Regions from separate parts of the Homo sapiens genome. Here region 1 is linked to region 2. The links are contacts of gene promoters, found by promoter capture Hi-C in blood cells and fetal thymus (Javierre and others, 2016). All regions are on one chromosome and are shown on one strand. The core of a region is centred on a gene start or on the middle of the fragment in contact, and the rest is flanking DNA. Distances in the headings are between cores, read along the strand shown.

Evidence for each region. Contacts are between HindIII fragments. The CHiCAGO score rates a contact against its expected background, and 5 or more counts as called.
Region 1: a contact is called between a fragment that was not itself captured here and the fragment with the promoter of KIF21B in region 2, in 2 of 17 cell types (naive CD8 T cells and naive CD4 T cells). The highest score is 5.6, in naive CD8 T cells.

Annotation. Positions count from the first base shown.
Region 1 is chr1:201,156,937-201,159,636 of GRCh38, forward strand. It overlaps a transcript of TMEM9 not described here. Among named protein-coding and RNA genes, the nearest start is that of TMEM9, 3.8 kb to the left of the region's middle. The HindIII fragment of the contact is 1,590 bases long and covers 496-2,085 here.
Region 2 is chr1:201,022,274-201,024,973 of GRCh38, forward strand. KIF21B (kinesin family member 21B) reads right to left here and starts at 1,441. Exons shown (of 35, transcript NM_001252102.2): 1 at 1,070-1,441. The coding sequence starts at 1,110. It overlaps LOC101929305 (a long non-coding RNA gene), which reads left to right and starts at 1,676. Exons shown (of 4, transcript NR_188464.1): 1 at 1,676-1,812. RefSeq lists an enhancer at 1-243 and silencers at 848-897, 1,298-1,657, 2,009-2,166. The HindIII fragment of the contact is 1,958 bases long and covers 1-1,878 here.

The sequences.
Region 1 (2,700 bases), core at 41-2,540, 130 kb after region 2:
AGAAAGTGATGTGTTGTAGAAGTGAAGCAGCCTTGTTGTCTGTGGTGACACTTGAGGTTTGTTGTCTCCTGGCCATGAAGATCAAGGAGGTAGACACACAAAGAGTGAGGTTAAGAGTGGAAATTTAATAGGTGAAAGAAAGACAATAGCTCTCTGCTACAGAGAGGGGTCCTGGAAAAATGAGTTGCCAATTTAAGGTGAAATGCAGGGGGTTTTATAGATGAGCTAGTGGGGAGGCAGTATCTCATCTATACAGGGCATCTCAAAAAAAGTTAGCACCAGGTGTGCCATCTGCATAGGGCACAAATCTCTGGCAGCTCCCAGCCCAATCTTTATTATGCAGGTGGTTTCTCTGCCTGAGCTTCTCCATGTTGCCCAGTTCTTTCTTACTGTACATGTGCTAACAAAAAAGGGAAGGTGGAGTCCCATGGTGAACATGCCTGGCCCCCCGGTAGCCCTTTTCTATGAGTGCAGCTGCCAGCATTCCTCCGTGCAAGCTTCCAGCTTCCTTATATATGTTTGCAGCCCAATCTTTGAGGCTGCTCTGTGTTAGAAAAGAAATGATTTCTAGGGCTGCTTCTTATTAGAAGGGAAGTTCTGCCAAGGACTTTTTTGTCCTTGCTATCTGCCTAAATAATTTCTATCTCCCGTATCAGAAATGCTTTTTCCCTTCAAAAATTTTTTGAGCACTGTGCTAGGTGCTGGGGATATCTCAGTAAACAAGACAAACCCTGTCCCTGTTCCCACAGAACTTGAAGTTTATTGCAAGAAAACCACAAATCAACAAGCAATGACAATTCAGGGTGGTAAGAGCTGTGCTGGGGGAAGGCTGCAGAGGCACTTGGGAAACCTAGACCAAGGGCCAGGGGAGCCCAGAATGGTGGAGAGGGGGCTTTGAGGGCAGTGAGGGCTACTTGGGCTGGGCCAGAGTGGTGGGCAGAACAATGTCGCACCCCCAAATGTCCACATCCTAATCCCTGGAACTTGTGAATACTGTCTTACACAGTAAAAGGCACTTTGCAAATATAAATTAAGGCCCTTGGTTGGGGAGAGTGGCTTGGATTATTCAGGTGGGCCCAATCTAATTAGATGGCTCCTTAACAGAGGAACCTTTTCTGGCTGTGGTTAGAGAAGGAGATGGACATGGAAGTAGGGTCAGAGAGATGCTATGCTGCTGGCTTCAAAGATGCAGGCAGGGGGCCACCAGGCAAGGACTGTGGGTGCTGCAGAAGCTGGTCAAGGCCAGCCAATGCATTCTTCCCTAGAGCTTCTAGAAGGAATGCAGCCCTGTAGACACCCTGATTTTAGTTCAAGAGAACACCTCCGTCAGACTTATGGCCTACAGAGCTGTCAGATAATACATTCGTGTTGTTTGAAGCCACCAGGTTTATGGTAATTTGTGACAGCAGCCATGGGAAACAAATACTGCCAGGAAGGGTGGGCAAAATTTGAGGCACAATTCAAGAGCAGGGTGATGGTGAGGAGGGCATTCTGGTGGGGGGTGGGGGCGGGGGCAGGGGCAGTGTAGGGAGAGCAAAGAGATGGGACTGGGGAAGTTCAGGGAGAGACATGTAGAGAAAGAGTCAACAGTTCAGTTTGTCTTGATCCCAGGACAAGCGAATGGGAAAGGAAGGCAGGGAGCTCAGTGACATCAGAGTCAGAATGTGAGCCAGGAGGGAGCCGGGAGCCCCTGGCTCGGGGCTCAGTGAGAGGGTGGAGACCAGGTAACATCAGCAGTGCACTCTCCCCAGCAGAGGAGGCCTAAGGAAGCTCTGGAGCCTTCCACTGCTTCCTCTCAGGACTTAGCCTTCATCCTGCCTCCAAGTTTGGAGCTCTAGAACTCAGGCCAAAACCCATACCCTCTAGTTCATACCTGCTTTTATCCAACAACCCTAAAATCAGTTTGACTTTATGAGGCGAGGTCTTGGCATCCGTGCCACAGCTGTGGGTCTGGGTTCTTCCTCACTCCCTGTCCCTACCGTTGGTGCTCCTGGATAGGGGATGAGTGCTGTCATCACTCCCAAATGGTGTCTACTCTCCCTGGCATCAACTATATGCCCCTGCTTTTCCTCTAATCCCCACTGAAGCTTATCTGTCCAGTGTCTCATAACCTCAAGCTCCTATGAGATGATTGACTTCCTAATTTTTGCATTAGCAACCATGTCTTAGACACACTAAAAGATCATCCAACCTAAACAGAGAACAAAGCTCAAGTGATAGAATACAGATATGTGTTAACACTCTCAAAGGGGCAGTAATGTGGGGGTACAAAGGAGCGCTTGACCCACCTCTTATAGGACATTGCCCTCTAGCCACAGATGGCAGGTCAGGTGCCTGACGATGTCCTTAAAATAGTATGGGCACCATCCTCAGATACCTGAGTACCTCTTACCTCTCTGGCCACAGCAGGATTTCTCAGGCATCAGGGAAATGGGGGCACTGAGCTAAGGGCAGAGAGCGCCCTGCTGTGTAGTACCCTTTTCTAGCTGGGCAAGGCCCTGGACAAGCACGCTGTTTTTGGCTGGGGTCCCCACATTTGCCTTTTTATACACACACACACACACACACACACACACACACACACAGCTCTCTCAACACCACTTGACTAAAGCAACACTTAAGCAAATAGCAATTAAACCTTTTTTTTTTTTTTTTTTAAAGAGATGAGGGTTTTGCTGTGTTGCCCAAGCTGGTCTCAAA
Region 2 (2,700 bases), core at 191-2,690:
GGATCTAGAGACCTGAGAGACCTACCCTAGACCTGGACAATCCCCCGCCCCCTCCATCATACAGGGCTGGGGCAGAGATAGATGTTCTTGCCACATCCCTACCTTGGTGAGCAGCTCCAGATTGGCACTCTGCCGCCAAGACACCCCTCTCAAAGAGAAAAACCCAAAGCAAAAACTGGGAGAAGTGGTGAGGTGTGAAGCATCTCCACCCAGCACAAAGAACACAGATGGCTCAATTTCACAGCATTTCCTGCTCCTGCACCTTTGTGTACCCCTCCCAATAGAACCCACCCAGCCATGTCCTCTCCCTGTCTCATTTCTGCCGGCTCAAGTCCCGGAGCTGTTGAGAATGGAACCCCAGATAAGTCTAGGCAACCCTCCCCTGCTCAATTTTATCTGAGTGCCTGAGGATGGGGCATCTGCATCACACCCTCCTGCCCTCTCAGAGAGAAGCACCTCAGATACACCTCTTCCTCCCTTCCTAGGCCCATCTCCTCTTGGGACAGGACTGGTAGGATTCTCCCCCAAAGCCATTGACTTCCCACAGAAGGCCAAGGCATCATCCCAGCTTTTCCGTTGGTCCCCGCACCCGATCTTTGTCTGCAGATCTGGCTCCCAGGGTGGGTGTGCTGCCTTTGCTAGCTGGACCAAGAGCACATAACTAGCTGACTCGCATGGATGAGGGGAAATTTCCCTCTCTGGTATCCCCGTATGAGACAGCAGCCTCGTGGGGAGGCGAAGAGGAAACGCACAGACGCTCCGGCCTGGGCCAGAGCTGGGTGTGAAATACCGGATTTCCTTGTTTATTCGATTTTCTGATCATTAAGGGCTCCCAAGAGGGGCCCAAAATTACCACCCAAACAAAGCCACCTTCCAGTAGTCGGCGGGGTCGCCGCTCCCCTGCGGCAGACTGGCCAGCGCGCGGCGCCCTCCATCCCGTCCCACGCCGGCCCCTCCTCCGGGAGTGCAGGCTCCAGCCCAAGCGGTGCTCGCGCCCCCCGCCCAAAGCCCACGCGAGACAAAGCCCGAGGCTTCTCCGCGCGCCCCCTTCCCCGCCCCGGGTCCCTACCTGACGGCCACCTTGACGCAGCAGTCCCCCTGGCCGGCCATGGCCCTCTGGAGCTAGGGTCTGGGCGTGGATCAGAGGCGGGGGTCTGGGGGCCAATGCCCGAGGCAGCGGCTGCGGCTGCGGGAGGCGGGGGCGCGGGCGCGGCTGGCGGAGGCTGCGGCGGCGGCGGCTGGAGGTGACATGCTCGCGGGCGGCAGGCCGAGGGGCTCACCCGCGGCCGGCCCCCCGGGGCTGGGCCCGCGCGCCTCCTCGCGCCATCGGGCGGCGGCGCGGAGCTAGCTGACAGCCGGCGGCGCGACCCGCCGCTCCCTACGGCGCGGCACACGCGCACACACCTCCCACCCGGCAGCCACCTCCCGCCGCAGCGCGAACAAAGGGGGCGGGGGCCGATCCGGCCCCGAGCCCGCCCCGAGCCAGCCCCGAGCCCAGGCCGGGCCCCGCCCCGCCCAGGAGCCGCCAATCGAAAGCCCTAATGAGCAGTGGGGGCGGGACTCGCGCCTTTAAAGGGACCTCTTGGCTCGCGGCCACGGGGTGGCTGGGGGTAGGGGGCGGGATTGAAGGGTGGGGGTGGGGGTAGGGGTGGGAGTAGGGGTGGGGGCGCTGGACGCAGACCACGTTAGAACCTCGGCTCCTGGAGTAGCAGAACCTCGGCTTCAATGGGACCCTCATTTCATAAATGAAGAAACTGAGATTCAAAGAGGGGAACTACCGAAGGTTACAGAGCGAGTTCGTGGGTAAGCATGGTAAGAACCCTGGTCTCCCGGGGATCCCACAGCGATTGACGGTTTATAGTTCAAAAGAGCCAGGAAAGCTTCCCTTCTGCATTTATTCCAGTAAATTCGCCAACCCTTCTCGAAGGGAGTTCTTGCTAGCCCCTAACTAAAATTTCCCCCACCTCCACCCTGCAGCATCTTAAAGCTCATGTTTTAGTTGATTCCTGGCCAGGCTCCTAGCCCAAGACTAGCCCCTCCCTACTGCTAGACGACTGTCCCATTGACCTTTATGACCCACAGATGACCCCACTGGGCCTGGCTCACACTCTGCTTGTTGTGGCTGTGGGGCCAGAGGGTCAGTGTGGGAGGCCTGAGCTGCCCTGGGGGAAAGGAGGGAACAAAGGGGGCCCTCAGTTCCGAGCACCTGGGTAGAGAGGCTGGGCGGTGAAGTGGGTGGGGAAGGGAAGGAGGGCAGCTGCCTGCAGGAATGGGTATAAAGGACAAGGAGGACCATGGAGACTTTAACGCTGGGCCTGGATGGAGGAGGAGACCAGTGCTGCAAAGTCACAATTCCCTTCCCAGTCCATCTCCCTCCCTCTGAGCCCAGACGCCTCTTCCCTGCCCCCTGCCTCCCAACATTGGGGCCATTCACAGGGCCCCTCACCAGCTGCCCTCACTTCACCCAGCTCCCTCCCCTGGAAAGGGCCCAAGAGGAGGACCCAGCTGCAGCCCCAGATGTGGATGGGGATCTCTGGGGGAGGGGAGGAAGGGGAGTCTGACTCCAGGCCTCTTACATTACCCTCAGATGATGAAACCATGTCAGAGATTTTGGCAAGGGTGTGGACTGGGGTCTGAGGATGCATCTGTTGGTACCATCTTCCTCCCCTTCCCTCCTCCACTCACACCCCCCTCCCCGCC